Regions from separate parts of the Homo sapiens genome. Here regions 1 and 2 are each linked to region 3. The links are contacts of gene promoters, found by promoter capture Hi-C in human tissues and cell types (Jung and others, 2019). All regions are on one chromosome and are shown on one strand. Each heading gives the region's core, a stretch centred on a gene start or on the middle of the fragment in contact. The rest is flanking DNA. Distances are from core to core; before and after follow the strand shown. Region 1 overlaps RPTOR (regulatory associated protein of MTOR complex 1). Region 2 overlaps RPTOR (regulatory associated protein of MTOR complex 1). Region 3 holds the start of RNF213 (ring finger protein 213).

Region 1 (4,800 bases), core at 231-2,730, 600 kb before region 3:
CACTGTGTTGCTCACGTACGAGCCACGGCCACCTGTGACGGCACGGCCACCTCTCCGTGACGGCATGGCCACCTCTCCGTGACACCACGGCCACCTCTCCGTGACGGCACGGCCAGCTTGCTCAACACTCATGTTTGCACTTCAGATACACCTTGGGAGAAAGATGCCTGCCCTGGGAAAGGCAGGGAGGAGCGGGGGTTGCCCAGGGGCTCACTGGCGCCCAGTTCTGGCCATGTCATTCTCAGGGGACTCTCTGCCCTCAGAGGCAGGGGAGGGAGGGCGTGGAGGGCACTGCAGTGTGGAGGATGCCTGGCAAAGTACTGCTGCACTCCACAGCCAGGGGTTTCTGCTGTGTCCTTATCTCAAAGCTGCTGGAATTTCAAAGATATCCTAAAGGTATCACCTTCCAATAAGTGAGGTCCCCTGTAACCAAGACAGGAGGTGGTGGTGGGACCTAGGCCTGGGTCCCTTCCCTGTGAAAGGCCACATTTAACAAGGTATGAGCAGTTTCTCTGGTTCGGGTGGCTGGGCCCTCACCTGAGAGGCAAAATCTGTACCTGTAAAAATACCTCGTTTATCCAGCCTCGATTCATGTATTAGGCAAATTTCCAATGAGCAGAAGCTTAATTCTTTAAAGGGAAGAAACTGGTTTTAAAAAATTAACCTTAAAAATGAAACTCTTTCTAAACTGTTATGAATACATGCTTCCTGTCTTCTTAGAGTGCACGCAATACCACGCAGGCCTTTCCAGGATGACTAAGCGACACCACCACGCACACACCAAGTGACCGAGTCACGCCAGCCTTCCTCCGATGACTCAGGCCCTGACTCTGTTACAAGCTATTTGTGGCCTCAGGCACCTGGAGTGAAAATGGCCCAGTGGTGAGTGCTGAATGATTCTTCCAAGTTTTGGATGTTTTCTCTCGTCCTTCAGTGCTGGACTATCAATTACCACTCTTTGTCAACATTATCTGATGAAAATACTTAAATACACCAAACCCAGGTACTCACCACCCAGCTAGTGACAGCGGTTCCGCACCCACCGCCCCACCGCACCGCTCCCAAGCACAGTAAATTAAGGCTCATATGTCATGTGATTTCATTGGTGAATATTCAGTGTCTATCTCTAAAAAATTAGGTCTCTTTTATAAAAACATGATCCAGTTACCACACCCAAGAAAAACGAACAATGATTCTTGAATAACATAAATCCAGCACCTGTAAAATTTCTAATTGTTTTATGAGTATTCATTTTTGGAACTTCAACAGAACCAAGTAAGGTTTACTGTACATGGCAGCTGGCCATAGGTCTCTCGAGTTTCCTTGACTCTGTGGTTCCCTCTCAGCCTCCTTTTACTTTCCCTGTGAGTTATTTGTTAAACGCACGTCGCTTCTTGATCCTGCCTCTGCCAGGGTGTTTTTAGTGGCCATTACTACTCTGCTATAGAATGAGGAACCAGAAGAGCGTTTCCGAATTGTGCCTGCCATGATGGTGAGCAGACAGTGCTGAGGATCCAGACTCCTCCTGGGGGAAGCAGCACCACGAGGTGGGTGCTGCGTCAGGCTCAGGGGCGCCCTGCTCCTCCGCAGCGCTGGGGGCGGCTCAGGAAAAGGTGACCGGCCGACAACACACTCACTCCTATGTCTAACATCAGACATAAAGAGGGGCGACAACCCCAGACCCCCAAACGCCAGGCAGCACTGCAGGCTGCACGGGTACAGAGTGGGCTCCTTGAGGGCCTCAGGAGTGACAGGACACCAACACGGTGGACACACTCGCCCTGGGTCTCACGGCTGGGGGTGGCTCTGGATCATGAAATACGTGCACAGACTGAAACACGGAGCCTAATCTCTGTCCCACCTCCCTCAGCCCCCAGGTTAATGCGGAAGGCACGCACCAGGCTCACTGCCCAGGGACCCAGGTCCAAAAATCTTCCAAGCAAGTCCAATGCTCTCAGCCGGTGCACTTGGCTTAACAGCACCTGGAAGAACAAGAAGAAAATGGTATCACTGCAAACCATACTGGTGTGCAACCCCGAAACGCTGCTGCATGAGCTGCCAGCTTTGGAGCGGTCTGACCACAGTTCAGATCTGTCTGCTGCTTCAGTTACCTAGAGCTGGTGCTCCTTTCCTTACAAGTTCATGCTTTTAGACAGGTGAAGAAAACACGCTTTATGCCTTTATTACACAGATAAAAGATGCTCAATGTAGAAAATACTAGAACAAACATGCTTTAATTGCATTTAAAAAGCTAACCCACTGGTGACATTTAGGTATATGAACTCAGACATTGTTCTTTATGTCCACACTTCTCTTACTGATCTTGAACTAGATAATATGTGATTCTATTTCTCAGCTCCTTTTTAAACTAAACAATGCACTGTGAACATTGTTCATATCAGTAGGTATGTACTGACCATATTATTCCCAAAGGCGGCACAGTACTTCCGTTATGCAAATGTACACAATTCTTTTAAACAACTTCCCCAGTGATAGATATTTAAATTATCATCAAAATGTTCCTACTTTTACCATTTTTATTTATTTATTTTTGAGATAGGGTCTTGCTCTGTTGCCCAAGCTAGAGTATAGATGCCAGATCATGGCTCACTGCAGCCTCAACCTCCTGGACTCAAGTGATCCTCCCACCTCAAACCCTGAGTAGCTAGGACCGCAGGTATGTACCACCATGCCTGGTTAATTTTTGTATTTTTTATAGAGATGGGGGTCTCACTACATTGCCCATGCAGGTCTTGAACTTCTGGCTCAAGCAACCCTCCCGCTTCAGCCTCCCGAAGTGTAGGGATTACAGGCGTGGGCCATCATGCCTGGCCAAAATGCTGCTCTGATAAAGAAGATTGTGATCAATATCCTAATGGGTACATCGGCACATGTACATGATTCTTTTCCACTAAGATAAATGTGAGTATTAAAAAGGTAAGGTCGGAGCATATATACTTAAGTTACCAAATGACCCTGAGGCTGAACCCACTCACACTCTCGACGGCACGCACGTGGGCACCAGCTTCCTGCTGCCTGAGCTGGTCACCCAGCAGCGCTCACTGCGGTGTGACTCTGGGCAAGTTAACGTCGCTGAGCCTTGATTTATTAATTCATAAAACACATATAACACAACACCTGCCCACAAGGGTTTCATTAAATTAAATAATAAATTTAAAGCTTGTGGGACAATACTAGCCCATATTACACTATTATTAGCCAAAAGGACAGGTGAAAATACATCCTTTTCATCTGGATTTCTTGGATTTCAAGGGGAGTACATTTTGCAGGTTGATGGGCCATTTCCCCAGTAAACTTGCCCTGCATGCGTTTAGTTTTCTACTTCAAAATGTGGCTTTTTCTTATTGACATGTCAGAGTTCTTTATAAGTTAGAGTGGGCTCTGCCAGAGGTTTTGCACATACTTTTTCTGTTATATTAAAGTTCTACACTTTTTTTTTTTTTTGAGACAGAGTCTCACTCGGTCGCCCAGGCTGGAGTGCAGTGGCGCAATCTCGGCTCACTGCAAGCTCCACCTCCCGGGTTCATGCCATTCTCCTGCCTCAGCCTCCTGAGTAGTTAAGACTACAAGCGCCTGCCACCATGACCGGCTAATTTATTTTTGTATTTTTAGTAGAGACGGGGTTTCACTGCATTAGGCAGGATGGTCTTGATCTCCTGACCTTGTGATCCACCCGCCTTGGCCTCCCAAAGTGCTGGGATTACAGGCGTGAGCCACCGTGCCCGGCCAAGCTTTACACTTTTAATGGCATTACTTCTTTTGATTTTTTCCTTAATGGTGGCTATGCTGGAAGGCATGTGCATCGACTCCCTCCAACCTACAGCATTTCTATCCACGATGCCCCAGTCATCCAAGGGGTGTTTATGGGGCAGGTGCTGCGCTGGGTGCTAGGAGAGTGACCACAGACAGTAGGGACCACCTCACCCATCCTTCATGTGGCCTGGGAGACAGACATTAAACAAATGACCGCCCCATCACCATGCCTAAACACACAGACCCTGGGAGCCCCTGACCTGGCCTCGCTGCAGGCCTCGGAGGTTTTCCCTCCCCCCAGGAGAAGATGCACAGGACACAGCTGGGCAGCGGGTCCTGGAGGTGACATGAGGGGGTTACCGCGTTGCAGGTGGAGAGGCTGGAAAAGCCCGGGTGTCTGAGGATGCACGGGCTACCAGTATGACTGAGGTCAGTGATGGGGGAGGGGCCGGATAGGGAAAGGCCCCGCCGACGGCATGCAGAGAGGTCAGTTTGTTTTGAGATCCAGAAGCCACCAGCCGACGTTAAGCAGCAGTGACTGGTCCAGTGTGCTCGCTTTGGGGACAGGCCTGGCAAGAGGCTGGAAGTCGGGGAGGCGAGTGGAAGGGGGTGGGTTTGACCAGGGTGCCAATACGGAGATGGGGAGGAGGAGACTGCAGCACTGGCCAGAGGCTGAGAGAAGAAGGGGTGAAGGAAAGCAAACTCTAGAAAAGAAGGTTTGGGATGAGTTTGAAAACCCTCAAGAGAGGCAGGGGAAAGGGACGAGGAGGCCAGTGAGGGTGGAGGATCGGGGGAGGGGAGAGGAGATGGCGGCCACCTGGGTCAAGCTCCTGGGGGTCGGCCAGCACGACTTCCACGGAGGAGCCACCGAGTCAGGAGCATGGGCCCTGGGGAGCCGTGGAGAGGGAGGAGCTTCCCTGTGGTGGGAGAAGAGCACTGGCAGGAGGATGAGGGGGACAGGGAAGGTCACAGGTGGCAGCAAGAGGAGGTGGCTAGCCAGGCTGGAGGGGCAGATGGGGTATGGAG
Region 2 (4,727 bases), core at 1,702-4,201, 650 kb before region 3:
GCAGGTTATGCCATCGTTTCCTTGAGTCTGGCTGAGTCCAGGGTTTTTATGGGCTTCAAAGGGGAGGAAGTATGTGCTGACTGATTCATGGGCAGCCATGGGCAGGCTTGGAAAAAGCACTAAAAGTTCCCATTCTGGTCCATCAGCCCAGCCCCCAGGCTTCAGGCTGTCCCTGGCTTGAAGGTGGCACTTCACTGGGGACCTGCCCCTTTCTGCCCAGGACCCTGTCTGCCTCCTGCCATCATCCATAACACCCAGGCTGATTGTGCCGAGGGGCACCTGCAGGCCAGTGCCAAACTGCCCTCAGTCCCCACCCTCAGCCTCCCTCCCATGCTCGTTGGTGCCCAAAGTCCAGAGGGGGCTGACATAGCAGGTGGTTGGCATGTGAGCACTGCCCCGAGCGTGTGCACAGCCGGCTGGTTGCAACAGCACCTGGGTACAGCCTCAACTTTGCTCCGAGATTGAAGTGGGTGCCAGGAGCAGGGAGAGGCCAGGGAGCGGGAGCAGACGCTTCCAAGCCTGCAGGGGTAGGGGCACTTCCTGGGCCCCTGAGAGCACAGAGGAGCCATGCCGGGTGGCTGCAGCTGCACCTGGGAGGGTGGAGCTCCTGCCCGCTCCTGGTCCCCAAGAGCAGAGATGGCTGGGTCTGGAGCCACGGCTGGGTGGCTGCAGCTGTGCCTGGGAGGGTGGGGTTCCTGCCTGCTCCCGGCCCCCAAGAGCACAGAGATGCCTGGATCCAGAGTTGTGGCTGGGTGGCTGTAGCTGCACCTGGGGAGCATGAGGCTCCCACCCTGCCAGTTTGGAAGGGGGTGGGATTCCACCGGTCCCTGCCTCCTGCCAGCTTTGTGGAGCACACGGCCCTGGCCACACCTCCCCAGCTGTAGCTGGCATCATGGCAGTGGCCGCTCCCAGACTGGCTGCCACTGCCATCAATTTGACCTTTCGTTAAGTACACCCCTTTCTCATCTCCGTCTGCATGCATGAGTCCTGCAACAGAGGCAGCGGCCAGCGCACATGCACACACACTCTTCACAGTATCAAGAGGCTGCAGCGGTGCTTCTAGGTGAGTTTGTGCATTTATGCTCACACGTTTTCTCATAAATTATAATATAAGCAGTGATCATGAGAACATGTGCCCTGACAGGTGACCACCTGTGGCTTGAAGGTTCTTTCTTGGCATTGTCCTAAAACCACTGAGGTGAGAACTGCTGGGGCCACAGGCAGGCTCCTGAGGGGCATCAGTCTCTTCTTTCTACTTCTACATAGTCTGAAATTTTCCTTAAAAAAACCTAAAAGCAGGCCAGGTGCAGTGGCTCATGCCTGTAATCCTGGCATTTTGGGAGGGAAATGTGGGTGAATCACTTGAGCCTAGGAGTTTGAGACCAGCCTGGGCAACATGGTGAAACCCCATCTCTACAAAAAATACGAAAATTAGCTAGGCATGGTGGTGCGCCCCTGTAGTCCCAGCTACTTGGGAGGCTGAGGTGGGAGGATCGCTTGAGCCCAGGAGGTCGAGGCTGCAGTGAGCCGTGACTGGATCACTGAACTCCAGCCTGGGTGATAGAGTGAGACCCTGTCTCAAAACAAAACAAACAAACAACACCCCCAAAACTAAACCAAGAGAAAAGGGAGCTAAAAGCAAAATGAAAACCCCAAGCCCATGGAATGGGAATCGAAATATATTATAAATACATGAAATCAGACCACAGCTCTGGAGCTGTGTGGGTTCTCTCATACAGAGCTGGTGGCAATTTCTGTATTTGAATATAGAATTCTACAGGGCATTCCATAGTAATAAGGCTGTTTTAGACTCTGATGAACAAAAATTTGGCTTCAGAGTTAAATATCTAAAATAGGCTCGTTTCTCTGTAAAATGAAATGTAATCCCTTCAGTTCCTAGAGCAGGAAAATAAGGCATTTCTTGAAATTAAAATGAAGACAAGAAAGATTTATGCTTCCAAATGCTTTAGTAGCAATGTTTACTCTTAAACCCACACACATATACACTCAGACACACACACACGCGTGCACACACACGCACACAGACACACACACACAAGCTCATGCTGCATTGTGCTATGCATAGCAAGGTCTCTAGCAGAGGCCTTCTCTTGACCTTCTCCACCCCTCTGGCTGTGGCATGTCTGCTGGAGTGATGGCCATGTGCCTTAAGGTCTCTGTGTCATTCTAGAACGGCAAAGCAGGCACAGAAGGCAAATGCCACTTTTATGGCGGTTTCTGGGTCTCAATCGGATAGCACGACAAAGCCGTGTGTTCGAGTTGCTATAACCTGCTAACATGAAAGGCAGACGCAGGTGCTTAACTGCCTTACCGTGGTGGGAGAGGGGGGCGGGCCGTCCAGCTACACTACATGTCACACACAATCCAAAAGGGCGCTGGGCTGTGGAGGCTGTGCTGGGACGTTTGCTGAAGAGCAGAGAGCAGTGGCTTCTGTGCTACACAGGCTCGAGAGCTTCCCAAGAGGAGCTATTTAACAACTGGAGGCCAGGTCCACAGGAACGCACTTAATAGTCCTTATATTTCAAGATTAGGCACTCGGATTACAGTTTAAAATAATTCAGGCTAATTTTTCAGTAAGGTTAAATACACAAAAGCCACTGAAAAATAAACTTAAATAGGCTGAATACTGATTTCATCATGATCAAAATACCCAAGAAGCTAAATTAATTGGGGGAAAACGATCAAACCTCCTAAATAGCGCTGGCCTCCAACTGTGCAGTCAGGACAGAGCAAGGGTGGTCCATGGCCACAGCCATCCTGTGCCTCCAAGAGAAAAGAAGAGGCCACCAGACACTCCTGTGTGTCAGAGAACTGCCAGCAGAGACGCGAACTGGCCATCAATTCTAAAAACTTAAACCATTTATTAATGTTCGTAAAAAGCTTTTACAACTATTTTAGTGAAAACGGCTATTTAAAACCCAACCTTGAAATCTTAAACTAAAAGTGGTAGAGGCTATTTAGAGTCTAAAAGGGCAGTGGTAAGTGGTAAGAACTGATTTTCCCTAATCCGTAGCAGGCAGATGTGACGGTTTCAGTCCCAATCCTCCAGAGCGTCAGCTCATCTGAGAGGCCTCGGGACCGGTTGCTCTGGTCTGGGGCCTCCGTGGGTGGTTTCCTCAGGGGTGTTTGTGCAGTCTTATGACTTTCTTTTCTTCCTTATTTCCTTCCTGTCTGCTTTACTGCCTCCCCTTCTTGGTCTCAGACCATAATGTGTAACAAACATATATTTTTAAACATTATTTTAAAAGACACGGTCTCACTCTGCCGCCCAGGATGAAGTGCAGTGGCACAATCATAGCTCACTGCAGCCTTGAGCTCCTGGGCTCAAGGGATCTTCCAGCCTCATCCTCCTGGGTAGCTGCGACCACAAGTGCTTGCCACCGTGCCCGGCTAACTTGCTACTATTTTGTAGAGACGGGGTTTCACTATGTTTCCCAGGCTGGTCTCAAAACACCTGGGCTCAAGTGATCGTCTCTCGCCTTGGCCTCCCAAAGTGCTGGGATTACAGGTGTGAGCCACCACACCCAGCCTGAGGTTTATTTTTGTATTTATCTTATTCCTAGTTTAAAAGCAAATAATTATATTATTTCTTAGTTTTCTTACCGCATAATGAAAACATTAACTTAATTGACTGGCTATTTTCAACAGGCCAGTAGCACATAAAAGAAACCTGAGGAGATGGCCTGCTGCCTGGGGATGAACGTCTCCAGGTGCCCGTGCAGCTGGCCACACCACACGGTGACGAAGGAGGTGGCAGAATCCGCTGCAGGGATGCGGTGACGAAGGAAGTGGCAGAGTCCGCTGCAGGAGGGGAGGCCGGTGCAGAATTAAACAATCTGGACCTTTCCAAGTTGGCCAATAGGCTACTTGTGACTATACCGGTGATACCATAAAGAACAGGCCAGGCGCAGTGGCTCACGCCTGTAATCCCAGCACTTTGGGAGGCCGAGGCAGGCGGATCACGAGGTCAAGAGACCGAGACCATCCTGGCCAACACGGTGAAACCCCTCGTCTCTCCTAAAAATACAAAAATTAGCCGGGTGTGGTGGCTCACGCCTGTAGTCCCAGCTACTTGGGAGGCTGAGGCAGCAGAACTGCTTGAACCTGGGAGGCGGAGGCTGCAGTGAGCTGAGATTGTGCCACTGCACTCCAGCCTGGCAACAGAGCAAGAGAAAAAAAAAAAAAAAGAACTGAAGAAGAACCAACTGCAGACGGTAAGGTGATTTCCATCTAAGATATAACTAGACCAACAGAAAATAACTTAGTTGAAGGAACCGAAAGCCACAGAAGTATAATATCAGCAAAAGGAGCTGAGGAGCTGCAGGAACCCTGGCTCGATGGCCGGCCAGGACCCAGAAGGCCACAGCAAATGAGAGGGGGAGACTCGATAGCTCATTTGGAAAAAGCGATGGACTAGGATGGGAAGCCGTGGCTCCTCGACCCTGCAGACCCTGGCACTGAGTGATACCCGAGGCAACGCCATAGCCGTGACGAGGTCAGATGAAGACGTAGAACACCACAGAGGCTGCAAGAGTGTGGCCTTTCCCTGCATTCTTCCTGCAACATTTCTGTAAGCTTTTGAAGTTTTATCAAAAAGTTACCAAAAAATTTTTAAGTGCTATAATGAGTGACTTCTAATTCCACATAAATCATCCAACTTCCATAAGCAACTAGAAAACCAGGACAAATACCGTAAACAATTGTTT
Region 3 (4,589 bases), core at 750-3,249:
CACTCAGGCCCCCTCCCTGCCCTGGCCCTGCCCTCTCCTCCCACTGGGGTGGGCTCACTCAGGCTGGGCCTGAACGAGGGACGGAGGCACTGGGTGGGGTTCCCTGGCTTGACCTGTGTGGGAGACTAATCTATGCCACCCCAAAACAGATTCTGTGGTCAATTTTGAGATGGCTATTCAGAGCAACCACATACTCAGGAGTTCTGGGAAGCTATCCTTTTGTAAAAGGCTATAAAGGAAATCCACACCATGAAACAGCAGAATGGAGCAGAAGCTCTCTCTGAGGCCCCATTATCTGCCTAGAGGGATCTAGGAACGGTCCCAGGGACACACAAGAGGAGTGCCTGCGGCCTCGCCAGTTCCTCTGAGAGCAGCTCTGAGATCACCTGAGTGATTATCTGCACAACAAGACAACCCTGCACACCTCCCCTCTCCAGCCCCAAGCCCCTGTCCCAATGCCATAAAAACATCAATCATCTGTCTTCTGCAGTCTTCTCTTTGATGAGGTTCCCAATAGGTGTATGGGACAATTTGCATCCCTTTTCTCCAGGTCTGCTGCCCTTTTATTCCAGAGACTAAAATTATCTCTCCTTCAGAGTAGAAGGAGAGTTTAAAACTCCCCTACCCCTGCCACAGCCAAGCCCTGGCTCCCACCGTACCTCCTCCCCTCCACACTCTACCTGAAACAACCACCAGTGGACACTCCCTCCCTCAAACACCTTCAATGACTCCCCACCGCCCAGGCCTCTTTCTTTCCACCCGAAGTGTTTCCTTCTCCAATGCTACACTGGGGAACCACAGACCAGAAAACTCGAAAAATCCTCCAAAAAGCATTTTTTGTTTGTTTGACAGTTTCACCCAGGCTGGAGTACAGTGGGCAATCTCAGCTCACTGCAACCTCCGCCTCCCGGGCTCTAGCGATTCTCCCGCCTCAGTCTCCCAAGTAGGTGGAGTTACAGGCATGCGCCACCACACCCGGCTAATTTTTTGTGTTTTTAGTAGAAACGGGGTTTCATGTTGGCCAGGCTGGTCTCGAACTCCCGACCTCAGGTGACCCACCCGCCTTGGCCTCCCAAAGTTTTGGGATTACAGGCATTAGCCACTGCGCCCGGCCCCCTAAAGCATCTTATTGTTCCATCTGCTCTAGGGGCCGGAAGACACAAGAGAGAGCCCCAGGCACCCAACACTGTTGCATTCAATCCGCTTCCTGTCTTTTCTCTGACATTTTTTCCCAAGCACAGACACTGCCACCCAAATCAAAGCCCATCCCCCAACCACAACCAAAGTCAACAAGGTGGGGGCAGGGAAGGGCCACCACCATGTTTGCACAGCTCCTTCCCCTCCCGCCCTGGACTCCCCCAGGGCCCGGCCCGCCGGCTTGCAGGCAGCCATCCGGGAGGGGTGCCCACCCTGGCCTTGAGCCCCGCGCTCGGGCGACTTCGCCAAGTCGGAAGGACGCTGCGCGGTGCGGTTCAGACGGGGCGATGCCTCCCTCGTAAAAGTTAGGAGTCTGTTTTTGCAACTTCACTTTTCCGTTGTTGCCATTCGTACAGGCGCAGGATTCCCGGGCGGACCTGCAGGCCCGGGTCCGGCTGTCCCCTTCCACTACACCCCCCGTGCCCCGGCCACTTCCCGGGGGCAGCACTGCCGGGGCGCAAAGCCTCCTCCGCGCTCTGCGCTCCGGGGATGTCGCCGGGGTCCCAGGCGTGCCCGCTGCCCCCACCCCGACCCCTCCCGCAGCCGGGGAACAGGGTCAGTGGGCGCCGCGGGCGGGGCTGGACCGGGCACCCCGGCGGCGAAACCGAAACTTGGAGCCGGCAGGAAGAGGCGGCCGGGAGGGGCATCCGGACGCAGGCGCCGCTCCCCGGGACCCGGCCCGCCGGCCCGCGGGGCCCACTGTATCCTAGCCCGCTCCCCGCCCCGGGAGACTCTCCAGGCCCGCTCGCACCTGCGGCCCCCGAGCTCGCCGCCTGCCGCGCGCTGTCGCCCCTCGGGTCACGGGGCCCTGGGCCCCGCCCTGCCCGCCGCCGCCGCCGCCGGCCCCGCCCTGCCCGCCGCCGCCGCCGCCGGCCCCGCCCTGCCCGCCGCCGCCGCCGCCGGCCCCGCCCTGCCCGCCGCCGCCGCCGCCGGCCCCGCCCTGCCCGCCGCCGCCGCCGCCGGCCCCGCCCTGCCCGCCGCCGCCGCCGCCGGCCCCGCCCTGCCCGCCGCCGCCGCCGCCGGCCCCGCCCTGCCCGCCGCCGCCGCCGCCGGCCCCGCCCTGCCCGCCGCCGCCGCCGCCGGCCCCGCCCTGCCCGCCGCCGCCGCCGCCGGCCCCGCCCTGCCCGCCGCCGCCGCCGGCCCCGCGCAGGCGTGTGCGGAATTCCCCGCCGGTGGCGCCTCCCAGTGACTCCGGGCCCCCAGCCCCCGGGAGGCGCCTCGGGCCGCTGCGCGCCGGGTACAGACGCGGGAGGGGCCTCGGTTCCCGCCAGGCGTGGGGCGCATGCGGGTCTCCCGGAAGCCCAGACCCCGGGCAGGCCCGAGCAGCCGAGTGGGGCGGGACAGGCGCGCCCCCCGCCCCGGCGCCCAGCACCTCGGACAGTGTCTGCGGCCGCGCAGAGCCGGCGGCCAGCCTGGGAGCGGCCCAGAGGGCGCCCGGCGGGTGCAGTGGACGTCGTCAGCGCGCCGCGTGGGGGCCTTTGCAGATTAAGGGACCTCCGCGGCCCCGCGCGGAGCGCTCTGTCACTGATGATGGAGGGGCCACGGCGGTCCGCACCATCCCCCGTGCCTCAGTTTTCCCATCTGTGAGGCTCATGGTGTGACCAGGGACCTCCGTTTTAAAATCACCCACTTTCTTTTTCTTCCTTCTCCTCTCACCCCTTCATCCCGTCCCTCTCTGGACACTGCGCCCCTCTGCGCATTCCAGAGGGGACCCTCATCCTGAAACAATTCCCGGCGCGGAACCCCAGCTGAATGCTCCTGCTTGGGGCGGGGGGTCGCCAACAATTAGTCCAACATCCTCGACAGCCACCCCTCCTAACCGACAACTGCCCACGACAGCCATGGGAACAAGACACAGACCCTGCCCTTACCCCACTCCCCACGGTGCCCACGGCAAGTTTCCCTAGAAGAACTCGATGGCAGCCTGGGCAACATAGAGAGACCCCATCTCTACAAAAAAAATCATTTAAAAAAATTAGCTGGGCGTGGTGGTGCACCTGAAGAGGCTGAGGCAAGAGGATCGTTTGAGCCCAGGGAGCTCCAGGCTGCAGTGAGTCGTGATCATACCACTGCACTCCAGCCTGGATGACAAAGTGAGATCTTGCCTCAAAAACTAACAAACACACAAAACCTGAGGATAAATTTTTAATTTTAGGGTGGCACTTTATTTATTGTTTGTTTGTTTTTTGGAGACAGTCTCACTCTATACCCCAGGCTGGAGTGCAGTGGCGTGATCTTGGCTCACTGCAAACTCCACCTCCCAGTTCAAGTGATTCTCATGCCTCAGCCTCCCGAGTAGCTGGGATTACAAGCGCCCGCCACCAAGCCTGGCTAATTTTTGTATTTTTAGTAGAGACGGGGTTTCTCCATGTTGGCCAGGGTGGTCTCAAACTCCTGACCTCAGGTGATCCACCTGCCTTGGCCTCCCAAAGTGCTGGAATTACAGGCATGAGCCACTGCGCCCAGCCAAGGTGACACTTTAGAACGCTAGTTGGGCATCTTCTCGCTTTGCTGGGTCTCCAATTAAAACCTGCTTTTTCCTCCCACCAATCTTGACTGCACCACTGCACTCCAGCCCTGGCGACAGAGTGAGACTTTGTCTCTAAACAGTTAATTTCAACTGTTTCTTTTGACTTTTTCAGTATGACTAGTCGAAATGTTTAAATGACTTGCATGGCTCACGTTGGTGGCTTGCATGATTTTTCTGCGGGACAGTGCTGTCTCTGTGATCACAGTCTGCCCCTACCAGCTGCTGCAGCAGGTACACTAAGCCCTTGGAGCTTTGCCTCTTGCCCACGTAATAGTGCTGGGCCGGAGTGCTGCTCAGCACGGTGTTCTATCTTAACCTGAACATTTCCTTACTATTAATCCCAGGTCTTTAGATAAACTCAACCAATTGTAAACCAGAAAATGTTTAAATTTACCTACAGCCTGGAAGCCCCCTGCCCCCACCGCTTCAAATTTTCCTGCCTTTCTGGACCAAATCAATGTATTTCTCAAATGCATTTGATTGATGTCTGACGCTTCCTTAAAATGTATAAACCAAGCTGCACCCAACCTCCTTGGCACATGTTCTCAGGGCCTCCTGAGGGCTCTGTCACAGGCCATGTGTCAGGCCTCTGAGCCCAAGCTAAGCCATCATATCCCCTGTGACCTGCACGTATACATCCAGATGGCCTGAAGTAACTGAAGAATCATAAAAGAAGTGAAAATGGCCTGTTTCTGCCTTAACTGATGACATTACCTTGTGAAATTCCTTCTCCTGGCTCATCCTGGCCCACTGAGCACCTTGTATCCCCCACCCCTGCCAGCCAGAGAACAACCCCCTTTGACTGTAATTTTCCACTACCTACCCAAATCCTATAAAATGGCCCCACCCCTATCTCCCTTCA

What was found. The method cuts DNA at HindIII sites, captures the fragments that hold promoters and counts their contacts. A contact is called where the count stands out against the background at its distance.
Region 1: a contact is called between a fragment that was not itself captured here and the fragment with the promoter of RNF213 in region 3, in 2 of the 25 tissues and cell types used here (H1 embryonic stem cells and dorsolateral prefrontal cortex).
Region 2: a contact is called between a fragment that was not itself captured here and the fragment with the promoter of RNF213 in region 3, in 1 of the 25 tissues and cell types used here (dorsolateral prefrontal cortex).

The regions. Positions count from the first base shown.
Region 1 is chr17:80,852,646-80,857,445 of GRCh38, reverse strand. RPTOR (regulatory associated protein of MTOR complex 1) reads right to left here. Exons shown (of 34, transcript NM_020761.3): 12 at 1,899-1,982. Among named protein-coding and RNA genes, the nearest start is that of CHMP6, 140 kb to the left of the region's middle. RefSeq lists enhancers at 617-766, 1-840, 777-926, 663-957, 277-1,476 and 2 more. The HindIII fragment of the contact is 6,292 bases long and covers 1-4,626 here.
Region 2 is chr17:80,910,324-80,915,050 of GRCh38, reverse strand. All of the region lies in intron 21 of RPTOR (regulatory associated protein of MTOR complex 1), which reads right to left. Among named protein-coding and RNA genes, the nearest start is that of CHMP6, 79 kb to the left of the region's middle. RefSeq lists enhancers at 3,302-3,351, 4,120-4,309, 4,430-4,659. The HindIII fragment of the contact is 4,245 bases long and covers 829-4,727 here.
Region 3 is chr17:80,258,262-80,262,850 of GRCh38, reverse strand. RNF213 (ring finger protein 213) reads right to left here and starts at 1,999. Exons shown (of 68, transcript NM_001256071.3): 1 at 1,949-1,999. RefSeq lists silencers at 1,122-1,261, 1,642-1,991, 2,271-2,620. The HindIII fragment of the contact is 8,363 bases long and covers 1-4,589 here.